2 separate regions of the Homo sapiens genome follow, and region 1 is linked to region 2. Evidence: promoter capture Hi-C in human tissues and cell types (Jung and others, 2019). All regions are on one chromosome and are shown on one strand. The core of a region is centred on a gene start or on the middle of the fragment in contact, and the rest is flanking DNA. Distances in the headings are between cores, read along the strand shown. Region 1 has its middle 25 kb from the start of ASCL2. Region 2 holds the start of C11orf21 (chromosome 11 open reading frame 21).

The links. Contacts are between HindIII fragments. The study calls those that stand out against the background at their distance.
Region 1: a fragment that was not itself captured here is called in contact with the fragment with the promoter of C11orf21 in region 2 in 2 of the 25 tissues and cell types used here (pancreas and thymus).

The regions. Positions count from the first base shown.
Region 1 is chr11:2,241,898-2,249,594 of GRCh38, forward strand. No RefSeq gene overlaps it. Among named protein-coding and RNA genes, the nearest start is that of ASCL2, 25 kb to the right of the region's middle. The HindIII fragment of the contact is 4,327 bases long and covers 469-4,795 here.
Region 2 is chr11:2,300,668-2,305,482 of GRCh38, forward strand. C11orf21 (chromosome 11 open reading frame 21) reads right to left here and starts at 1,251. Exons shown (of 4, transcript NM_001329958.2): 1 at 1,089-1,251. The coding sequence starts at 1,141. It overlaps TSPAN32 (tetraspanin 32), which reads left to right and starts at 1,346. Exons shown (of 10, transcript NM_139022.3): 1 at 1,346-1,548; 2 at 2,177-2,291; 3 at 3,440-3,537. The coding sequence starts at 1,483. The HindIII fragment of the contact is 20,485 bases long and covers 1-4,815 here.

The sequences.
Region 1 (7,697 bases), core at 1,382-3,881, 57 kb before region 2:
ACATATCTTTAAAAGATAATTATAGTTGTAACAATACCAAAATAATTCAAGATGTTAACAATAGAGTAAACTGAATGTGGCATAGACTGGGAACTCTCTGTACTAACTTTACACATTTTCTGAAAAGCTAAAACTATTCTAAAATAAAAAATTTATTTAAATATTAACTTAATAATGAGAAACAATATAGTGTGAGGTTTATAATATGCAAGTAAAATGCAGGACAATAATAGCATAAAAGTGAGGAGGGAAGAAATGGAAATATACTATTGTAAAGTTTTTATGCTATGTATGATGTGGTCAAATATCACTTGAAGAAAGACTGATAAGATAAATATATGCATTAGAAATCCTAAAGCAACCACTAAAATAATGAAACAAATGGCTATAGATCATAAGCCAACAAAGGAAAGAAAATGATATCATGAAAAATACTCAATCTGAAGAAAAAAACAGATGAAGCAAATATAAAACAAATTACAAAATAATGGACTTAATTCCAATTATATCAACAATTACATTAAATATAAATGATCTAAACACCTTCATTAATATACATAGATTGTTGGGTTGCATAGAAAAAGCAAGACCCATAAATATATATATGCTGCCTACCAAAAATACACTTTAATTATAAAGACATAAGTAGGTTAGAAGTAAAAGAATTTTAAAAAGCATAAGCAAAACTAGCACCAATCAAAGCCAGAATAGCTATGGTAATATAAGGGAAGCAGATTTAAAAGCAAAGAATATTACTGGGACAAAAAAGGTCATTTCATAATGATATAAGAGTCAGTCCATCAAGAGGATTTAGTAATCAAAATGTTTATACACCCAGTAACAGAGCCTTAAAACAAATAAAGCAGAAAACTGACCAAATTACTAGGAGAAATAGACAAATTCACATTATAACAGGAAATTCAATATTCCTCTTTCAATAATAGAACAAGTAGACAGAGAATTGGTAAGGATATAAGAGACTTGAACAAAACAATCAACTTGATTTAGCTGACACTAATAGGACGCTCCACCTGATAACAACACAATACATAATCTTCTCAAGTGCACAAGGAGCATTTACTGAGACAGATCTTACTATGGGCCATAAAACAAGTCTCAGTAATTTCAAAAGGATTCAAGCAACACAAAGTATGCTCTCTGACCAAAAAGAAATTGAATTACAATTCAAAATTAAATTCAAAGTTAACAGAAAGAAGGAAACAATAAAAATCGAGAAGTAAATCAAGGAAACAAAGCACAGGGAAAAATGAGAAAAAAATCAATAAACCAAAAATGGATTCTTTTTGAGAAAATCAATCAAATTGCTGAACTTCTACCAAGATTAATCAGGAAAAAAAAGACAGAAACTGCCAGTATTAGGAAGTAAGAGAGATGACATCATTTACAGATTCTACAGATATCCAAAGGATAATACGGGCTATTACAAATAACTTTATTCTGATAAATTGACATCTTAAACAAAATGAACAAATTCAATGAAAGACTGAAATTACCAAAACTCATACAAGAAAAAATAGATAACCTAAATACACTCACAAACACAAATTAAATTTCTAGTAAAAATTCTATTCACAAAGAAAACATCACAGCATCACTGGTAAATTTTACCAAACATTTAAAGAAAAAGGATACCAATTCTAGAAACACTCTTTCTAAAAATTAAAGAAGAGGGAATACTCCTTCACCATTTCTATGAGACCAGGATTATTACCCTGATACCAAAAGTAGGCAAAGACATTACAAGAAGAGAAAACTAAGGCTAAAACCTGTCATAAAAATAGATGCAAGAATTCTAAACAAAATTTTATCAAATCAAGCCTGAAAATATGTAAAAAGGATAATATCTCATGATCAAGTGTGGTTTCAGAATACAAGGTTGGTTTAACACTCAAAAATCAATCAATATAAATTTTCATATTAATGAAACTAGAAAAGGAAAAGCATATTATTATCAATATACATATGTGCACTGGTTAGGGTTCTCCAGAGAAACAGAACCAACAGGGGTGTGTGCGTGTGTGTGTGTGTGTGTGTGTGTGTGTGTGGAGAGAGAGAGACACACAGAGAGAGAGAAAAAGAGAGAGAAAATCCAAAATCGGCAGGGTAAGTGGCAGACTGGAGCCCCAGGAAAAAGCTGCAGCCCAAATCCAAAAGCAGTCTGCTGGCAGAATTCCTTCTGGCTTAGAGAAAGTCAATCTTTGTTTTGTTAAGGCCTTCGTCAACTGCTTAGATGAGGACTATGGTTCAAGCTTGTCCAACCTGTGGCCCATGGGCCACATGCAGCCAGGCACTGCTTTCAATGCAGCCCAACACAAATTAGTAAACTTTCTTAAAACATGAGACTTTTTTGCAAAATTTTTTTTAGCTCATCAGCTATCATTCGTGTTAGTATATTTTATGTGTAGCCCAAGACAATTCTTCTTTTCCCAGTGTGGCCCAGGAAAGCCAAAAGATTGGACACCCCTGGTTTAGATGTTTGTCCCCTCCAAACTTCATACTGAAGCTTGATCCCCGATGTTAGAGGTGAGGCCTAATGGGAGGTGTTTTGGTGATGAGGCCAGATCCCTCCTGAATAGATCCTCCCTCAAGGATGAGTCAGTTCTTTACTGGTTGCTGTTTATTAAAAGAGCCTGGCATCTCCCCTTCTTTGCTCGCTCTTGCTTTCTCTCTCACCATGATGCAGATGCCCAATCTTGAAATTTTCGGCCATAAGAATCATGAGCCAAATAAATCTTTTTTCTGTATAGATCTCCAGTCTCAGGTATTTCTTTATAGCAACACAAAATGAACTAAGACAAGGACCCTGCACATTGTGGAGGTTAATCTGCCCTACTCGGAGTTCACCAATTTAACATTAATCTCATCCAAAAGTTACCTTAGCTGAAGCATCTAGAATAATATTTGACCAGACATCTAGGCACAGTAGTCCAACCAATTTGATACATAAAATCAACCACCGCAATGCTAAGAAAAAGTATCTAACAAACAATATACAATATCCTTTCCTGATAAAAACTCTCAGCAAATTAGGAATAAAAGGGAATTTCTTCAACCTGATAAGGAGTATCTATGAAAAACTTACAGCTAACATATTTAATGGTAAACGATTGAAAGCTTTCTTCCTGAGATGGGAAACAAGGTGAAGATATCTGCTCTACCCAGTGTAATAAGAAAATAAAAAGAAACAAATACACCCAGATTGGAATGGAAGAAGAAAAACTGTCTTAATTTATACAAGAAATGATTGCCTATGTAGATGGTCAAACAGAATCTACATGAAACACACAAAGAACAATCAGACATTGAAATTTTACTAGCATAAAAATGCAAAATACTGCGAGAGAAATCTAAAAAAATATGTACAAGTCTGGTGTACTGAAAACTATAAAACATTCCTGAGAAAAAACAAGTAATACCCAAATAAATAAAGAAATATACTGAGTCCTAGATTGAAAGACTCAGAATTATTATCAGGATGTCAGTTTCTGACAAATTCATCTATAGATTCAACGTAATCTCAATCAGCACCCCAGCAAGCTTTCTGTAGAAACTGACAAACTGATTTTAAAATTCCTATGGAAATCCAAAGGACCTACAGTAACCAAAACATCTTTGAAACAGAACAACATACTTAGAGGACTTACTGTATCTGATTTCAAGGTTATAAAATTATAATAATTAAGACAGTGTTCTACTGGCATAATGATAGAGAAGTAAATCAGTGGAACAGATCAGATAGCCAAGAAATAGACTCACACATGAGGACAGCTAGTTTGACAAAGGTGCAAAGTCAGTTTAATAGAGAAATTGTATCTTTTCAACCAATGATGCTGGAACAATTGGATATCCACCTGCAAAAAGACAAAATAACTTTGACCAATTCCTCAAGCTGTATTCAAATTCATTAATGTAAAATGAATTAGTAACCTAATATAAATGTAAAACTGTGAAACTGTTAGATGAAAACATGGTGGAAAATCTTTGTGACCTTAGATTAGTCACAGAAAGGATATGACGGCAAAGGCACAATTCATAAAAGAAAGGTGGCTAAATGGAATGTCATCAAAATTTAAAAATTCCACTCTTTTGAAAGGCAGTCATAAGAGAATAAAGAAAGCAAGCCATCAGCTGATAGGAAATATTCACAAATCATATTACGATGAAGGACTTATATCCAGAATATTCATTGCATATTCTCTGTGTATTTTCAAAAATGAATAGTAAGAAAACAACCCTATAAAAATGAGCAAAAAAGATATACAGATATCTCCTACACACTTGACCAAAGAAGATATATGGATAATAAATAAGGTCATGAAAACATGCTCAACATCATTAATCATTAGGAAAATGAAAATTAAAAATCGTAATGAGATATCGCTACACACCTATTAGAATGGTTAAATTTTCTTGCTTTAAAACTGATCATACCAACTTTTGGCAAAGGTAGGAGAAACTGTAATTCTCATGCACTGTGAGTGGGAAGATTAATGGTACAACCCCTTTAAAAAATGATTTGGTAGATTCTTAAAAGGTGAAACACACACCGGCCGGCCATATGATCCATCCATTCCACTCCTAGGTATTTATTCAAGAAAAATGAAAGCATTTGTCTCCACAAAGACTTGTTCATGAATGTTTATAGCATTGGATCATAGATAGCCCAAACCAGAAACAATCCAAGTGACGCCTAACAAGTGAAGGTATAAGCAAATATACCCATTCATGTTATTTATCAATAAAAATAAATGAACGATTGATACCTGCAACAATATCAATGAATCTCAAAATAAGTATATGGCATGAGATAAGCCAGACAAAAGAATACATCCTGTATGTGTCCATTGACATAACACCGTAGAATGCAAAGAATACCTGATAGAAGGCGGATCAGTGGTTACCTAAGGCTGGGGAGGAGGGGTGGGAGGAAGGGATTACACAGTTGTAATTTAATTACGAATTTAAAACTTACAAGAAATTGTTGACGGTGATGATGGTCTCACTGTTGTACACATATGTCAAAATTCATAAAACTCTGCATTTTGGCCCAGTGTGGTAGCTCACGCCTGTAATCCCAGCACTTTGGGAGGCTGAGGCAGGTGGATCACCTGAGGTCAGGGGTTCCAGACCTGCCTGGCCAACGTGGTGAAACCTCATCTCTATTAAAAATACAAAAAACTTAGCCGGGCGTGGTGGCACGCACCTATAGTCCCAGCTACTCAGGAGGCTGAGGCAGGATAATTGCTTGAACCCTAGATGCAGAGGTTGCATTGAGCCGAGATTGCACCACTGCACTCTAGCCTGGGCAACAGAGAGAGACCTATCTAAAAAAAAAAAAAAAAAAAAAAAAAAAAAAAAACAAAAAAAAACCTCTATATTTTAAATATGTGTAGTTTATTGTATGTCAGTTAGCCCCCAATAAACCTATAACTTCCCAGGGGAAATGGCTGAGATTGATGCCACCTTCAAAGAGTTAAAGAAGGCCTAGGTAGTAACCCCCACCATCTCTCTCGTGATTTCCCCTCTCTGGCCTCTCTGCAGACTGGCTGAATCAGAATAGATGATTGCAGACCTCAAACTCAACCAAGTAGCAACACCAAATGGGCTGCCAGGCCAGATGTGGTATCTTCGTTTAATCTTAGATTAAATTAGATTCATTTAATCTAAGATTAAATTAACACTGCCCCTGGTACCCGGTATCAGTAGCTACGGATTCTGTGAATGAATTCTCTTCCATCTCATCAGGAGAGAGTGTGAGAAGCAATTTGCATTCGCACAGGAGGGACAACAGTACACAGTCACAGTTTTGCCCCAGGGATATGTTAATTCTTCTGCTCTTTGTCACAGTATAGTCCAAAGGGAAAAGGCCCTCTGGACATTCCACAGATTATCACGTTAGTTCACTATACTGATGGCAGTCTGTTAACTGGATCTGACGAGCAAGCAGGGGAAAGTACTCTGGACGCCCCAAGTAAGGCACACGAGCCAGGCTGGGAGATAAATTCCACGAAGCTTTAGAGGCCTGCTACATCATGATCTTATTACCATGAAGTTATTGCCATAAAATCTGGCAAATCCCATGGTACAAGAGGTATTTGCAATGGAGAAAGACACCACACACACAGAGCCCCTGGAGAACTTCAAAGAAGAGTCATGGCCCAGACTCCTTGGGCTCTGGAAGAAGGCCGTGCAGAGAACGATACCATTCAGAAAGAGGTTCCTGCTCTCCTGTGGGAACCTCTAGAGAAAGAGTTTCTGGTCATGGACGTTAAGTGACCATGTGGTCAGAGATGCCCATCTTGAGCTAGGATCTGTTAAACCCACCAAATCAGAAGGTCAGGCAAGCCCAGCAGCATCCAGTATACATGGGAAAAGACACCTCCTGGGACTGCGAACAAGCAGAGGGCAAAAGAAAGCGACATAATCCGGGGATCGGAACCCCCACGTCATCTACCAGTGTTGCACTGACACCTCTTCTTCAGTCCACACCTGTGGCCTCCTGCAGAGGTCCCTCTGACCAGCCGATGGAGAAGGAAGGGGCCTGAGCTTCACTCATTGGCAGGTTAGCTAGAAACGTTAGTGAGCCCCCAAAGGACTGCTCCTGCACTGCAGCCCACTCAGGTGGTGGTGATGGTGGCGATGGGGTAACCCTCCCAGGGGGCCGAGCTTTGAGTGCAGGACCTGGTCGTGCACTTGTAGGGAGAGAAGCGAACCAAATCAGTGGTTCTATTTCTAGCAGTTTTAGGCTCTACAGGGCCATTCCCAGAGCGGGACGCTTCCACCGGAAGACGCTATTAAGACAGCTTCCACCTGGTCACTTCGGGCTCCTGGTATCAACAATCTGGCAGAGAGAATGAAGTTCCCATACTGGCAGGGGTAACTGGCTGGGAGCATCATGAGAAGGTATGAATACAGTCATCAATGGGGGCGGGCAGGTGACCCACCAGGGGCATCTCTTGGTGCTGCCATGCACAGATCTTCCCGCAAGTAGCAAGCGCCACAGTGTGAGCATGATAAGGCCATGGTGACCACAGGCTGCTCAAGGTCCCGGCTATCTGACACGGATGGAGGAGGAAGGGGCGGTGGCTATCAGTCAGGGCCCCAGGCAATGAAAATGGCAATGGCAATGGCAGGAGTAGGCACTGGCGTTCATCCCACTCAGCCTGTTAGTGTCAATTTCCCCTGGTGTTGGGACCAATTTGATCCTGGAGAAGCTCTCCTCAGGGGAGCAAACCTCCTACACAGGTGGGCTGTGCGGGGGGTGGGGGTGGAGTAAGGCGTGTTGGGTCATGGGTGCTACTGGTGTCCTCCCCAACTCCTTTTATCTGGACCGTGTGCCTATCCCCCAGCTGTTAAGTGTTGACAACTAATGGCTCAATGAAGAGCTGTTTAGCTAAAGGGAAGCCCCACATCCGGGACGTGTGTGCCCTGGGGGACACACAGCAAATGACTGACAAGGAGGAACAGAAGGCAGCCTCTTGCTTCCAGTCCTGGGAGACCATGCTGAAGCCCTGCCTCCTGGCTTATCTGTATCTCCTGCACAAGAATTCCAGCCCAGGCTCTGTTTCTAGGGAGTGTGCCCTGAGATGCCAGCGCTTGAGCTTCGAGAGCACGAGGGGGTAGGTTCTGGTGGACAGGGACCCCGGTGTGACGACAACTGCAAGGTTCACCTTGGA
Region 2 (4,815 bases), core at 1-2,500:
CCGAAATTCTTCAGACCTGATGAAGAGGTGTCCCAGAAGCGGGTGGTGCTCCAGGCCCGCCTCACCAGCTCCAGGGAGGTCAAGGTTGGAGAGAGACAATTCTAGGGGCGAACCAGACATAGCCAAGAGCAGCTCATCTTCCCTGGAGAGGACGGGCTGCCCACTTGCACAGCCCGGGGGCCTCCTGCCCCTAGACCTGGTACCTTCACTCTTGTTGCCACCCCTACATTCATACCTGCGCCCCAGTCTGAGCCACACCTAGGCCCCCAGCTGAAGTGACACTGTGGGTGCCAGGCATCTGAGGTCTCCACAAGCCCCCACAGACTCAGGGTGGGAATTCCTGGGGGCCAGAGCTGCAGAGGGTGCTGCCTGGGGGTGCTGGGCTGGACGGGGGTCCTGGTTGTCCCTCCTGGTTCTCCTGGTTCTCCCTCCGCAGAGGGAGGGAGGCGGTGGCCTCAGCAGTTCCTCCAGCAGCGTTCCTGAGCGGGCGGCAGCTGGGCCCTCTTCCCACAGCCACGCTGGGGTTGCCATGCCTGCAGGTCTTGGGGCCCCCTCCCCCTTGATGAGGTCCTGACCAAATGCAGGAGGAGCAATTCCAGCACCGAGGGGCGAGCAGAGCCGCCTGTTAGCACTCCTGGGAGGGCCCGGAGTGGTCCCTGAATGATGGATTCACCTGGAACATTTTCACCCTCTTCAGGCCCACCCTGCCCCAGAGGCCCACGGAAACCCTGCCTGTACTGGGGCCGCAGCGCTGCCCCCACCCATACGTAATTACACGGCTCGGTGTAATTGCAAATTCGAGGTTTACAAAGCCTCCCCCTGGAGGCCCCACGTGAGTGTGAGCGAGGCCCCAGCCCACCCCTGTGGCCCCAAGAAGGCTCTGCGACAAAATATCCATGAGTGCCGCCCACGAAGGCATTAAAACCAACGACCTTCTCAAAACTTAAGCTGTCACAGGACATTTCAAAGGGTGTTTCCTAAGAACACCTCAATAATGATGTTCCAAGGAGACCCCATCCAAATTCCTCCAAGGATTACGCCCCCAAGGCCCAGTCCACACTTGCTCACTCCCAGGACGGGGAGCTCACCTCCTCCTCCCCGGGCGCCGTCTCCTCCACATCCCACACCAGGTCCTGCCCATGACTTTCCCCCTCTCAGCGCCGTCCTCAGTGGCCACACCAAGAACGAGGCCATGTCTTCCTGGGAAGGGCCTCAGATGTCAGCAAATGCCCTGGTGTCTTGGGCTGGGCTGGGGGCACCAGGGTGAGGTGGTGGGGGGAGCCAACCTCACTGCCCCTCCCCTTCCTGCCTGCCCTTCTTCCGGGGCACCCAGCAGCTCGGTCCTAGGGCGATGTTGACAGACAGACAGAGGGGCGGATGCAGCCTACCTCCTGGGCAGTGAGCTGCGGTCTGAGGCCCCTGCCCAGCTGGAAACCACAGGGAGGGGAAGGGAGGGGAGGAGAGGAGAGGAGAGGAACCGTCATGGGGCCTTGGAGTCGAGTCAGGGTTGCCAAATGCCAGATGCTGGTCACCTGCTTCTTTATCTTGGTAACAGGCAGGTCGGGCAGGAGTGGGTGGTGGGTGGGGGTGAGCAGGGGTGAGGGGTGGCAGGGCCTCAGCACAGGGATTATCCCTCCCCTGACACACACACCAGCCCTACTGTCCCTGTCCTGCCCTTGCAGACATGTGTCCTGCCCTTGCAGACAGCCGCAGGCAGGCAGGGACCACCATGAGCAACCCCGTCTCTCCTCCTGAGGGGCAGCACAGAGCCTGGAGGAGGCCTGAGTGGGGCTGAGGCCTGGGGCGAGCTGGGGTGGAGGGGCACTGGCTGCCGGGCTCCAGGGATCTTCTCCCCTTCCTGCCCCGGAGGGTGCTGGCACAGGGGTGGGGCTCACTCCCACTCCGTAGACACAATGATCAGAGGTCCTGGGTGTCTGGGGAAGCTGGGCTGTGCGTGTATGCGTCTACCATGTGGGGGTGCCTGTGAGTGTGCTGGGGCGTCTGCAGTGAAGGCCTCCTGAGACCACTCCACGGAAACACCGGGAATCCCTGCAGCTGAGCCTGTCTCTCACGGGACCGGGAAGCTGGAGAGAGCCCCAACCCTGCCCGCTGGGGCCGAGCTCCCTGCTCCTGCAGCAGTCCCATGCCCCACACTCTGAGTCTGCCCTATCCACAGCTGCTGGGCCTCTCTGTGGCCACCATGGTGACTCTTACCTACTTCGGGGCCCACTTTGCTGTCATCCGCCGAGCGTCCCTGGAGAAGAACCCGTACCAGGCTGTGCACCAATGGGGTAAGTGAGGTCCAGGCCTGGCTGCATCGGGAGGGGCCTCGGGTGCAAGGGTGGCTGGCACGAGCCCAGCTGGACGCCTCACAGCCAGAATGGTGCCAGGCCCTAGGCAGGAGCCAGAGGTGGTCAGGGGCAGGGAGGGGCTGCCCTGGAGTCCTAGCTCCCCTGGGCAGGGCCTCGGGTCTGGGTGACAGCCAGTGTTCCTGCCTGGTTCTCGTGCCCCACAGGAGCGTGGGCACAGTGTGGGTATATGTCGGGCAGGGTCAGGAAGTGGCTCTGTGCGGTCAGGACCTGGCTCTGTGCAGTCAGGGCTCAGTCCCAGGCAGGCCTGGGACTGGCCTGGGGCTGGGCACAGCAGGTCCATGAGGGCTCCACATGGCTGATGTTCCACTCAGGACCTGGGATGTGGGTGGGGAGGGGGTGGGGGCTGCTCTAGCCAGACGCCTCCCTGCAGGGACTCAGCAGCGACTTATCCAACATCCAGAGAGCGGGAGCGAGGGCCAGAGCCTGCTGGGGCCACTCAGGGGTAAGGCTGAGGAAGGCCCCTTTAATGAGGGGATGTCAGAGCCAGATCTGCAGGGGACTCTCAGGCAGGAGCTCAGGGGGCCCAGGAAGGCTGCAGCCCGGTGGGCAGATGTAGGGAAACTGAGGCCCAGGAGGTCAGGGATACTGCCTTAGAACCCAATGCTTTTCCCCAAGTCCTAGGACCAGGGCCTCCCTGGAGGAGGACGCCTGGGGCCCAGGTCCAGGTCCGGACTGATAAGATTACAGCTCCAGTCCGGCCACTTGTCACTAGGACATGGCAGGAGGATGCCTGGGGCCCAGGTCCAGGTCCAGACTGATAAGATTACAGCTCCAGTCCGGCCACTTGTCACTAGGGCATGGCAGGGAGCATGTGGCTTCCAAGATAGCCCCACAGGCATGGAGGGCAGGGAGGAAAAGAGGGAAGGAGGGGCAGTCCCCCAGGCTGAACGAGTCCCACCTCCCTCCTCCTTCCCTCAGGGCCGTCTGATGGAGAGACAGGCCCATTCAGAGCCCCCCAGGAGTCCCTCACGGCCCCTGACTCCCAAGTTAGATTTCACACCCAGGCTGTGTGCACTCAGGACCTGTCCTGGGCACCCCTAACCCTCCTCCTCTCTCCTCCCAACCAGCCTTCTCTGCGGGGTTGAGCCTGGTGGGCCTCCTGACTCTGGGAGCCGTGCTGAGCGCTGCAGCCACCGTGAGGGAGGCCCAGGGCCTCATGGCAGGGGTGAGTTCATTGTGTTCCCAGATGCCCAGGCCCCCAGAAAAGAATTAGAAAGGAGTGAAGAGCTGGCAGGGCTGTGTGCCACCCCCACACCTGAGTGACCAGGCAGAACCAGAGGCCCCAGGGATGCTGGCCAGCCGAGACCCCCACGTCAACCCCACACCTGAGTATCTAGGCAGAAACAGAGGCCCCAGGGATGCTAGCCAGCCGAGACCCCCTACCTGGGTAGCCAAGGCCCCTCCACCAGGCCCTACCTCACCCTGTCATCTACACGCCCAACAAGGGTTCCTATAGGAGCTCTGAAAGAGAGAGACGGCCCTCCTGACCCTGGGAGCTGTTTCCAAAGTCCCTGGGAGGGTCTGGTTCTATTGCCCAGCAAGCTCTGGGAGGGCACTGGGAGCATCCCATTTCCTGTTCGGAGGAGGCCGGGCCAGGCTCAGGAAACGCCCCTTGAGCTCTCCAGCCTGGGCTCTCCGGAGCTGCACACTCTCCTTCCCAGCTGCCGGAGGTGTCTCCCCAGCCCCGAGGTCCCATAGGCCCCTCCACCCCACCCCATAGCAGTGGCCTCTTGTCACCCTCATTCCTACTCCTCCCCATGGGCTTCTGTCTTGGTCCCTGCCACTCGATGGTCATCGCAGACCCCACCTGGCGGCAGCCTCCCCACGCCTGTCCTGCCCCTGCTAGGCCCACAGCCCTCTTCTCTCACCCCAGCTGGGGCAGCTCCTCCCTGGCGCCCCGGGCTCCCACCTGTCCCTCTAGCCTCCCGTCTCCCCTTTCCAGCCATGAGGAGCTTGTGCTGGGGGCTTTGCTTCCCTGTTTAGCCTGTGAAGCTGGACCACTCTGGGGGTCCCTGAGGGCAGAGCCTCCTGGGTCCCCAGGGCTGGCAGGGTTTTCAGCTCAGCCTTCAAGTTCAGCAAATGCTTGTTTAATGACCCTGGTTTATAAATGTCTCCAAGAATAGGAATAGAGTCACCTCCTGGAGCTGCTGCCGGGCCAACCAGCCCTGGGTGGGCCCATGGTGGGCAGAGGAGGACCCAGCAGCTCCAGCACTAGCCAGGATTCCTGCTCCGGGGCACACGAGCATGGGCAGGGACAACCCCGGCCTGTGCTATCTGGCTTCAGGGCCAGGTGGGAGGCCCCAGTGGGGAGATGACAAGGCAGGTAGTCTGCCCCCCCCCCCAGAGGGTGTGTGGCCTGCAAAGGGACACCTGGATGGAAGAAAAGGTTGGCAACAGGGCCAGGCCAAGGGGTCCAGGTCAGAGCTGGAGGCCCAGAAAGAAC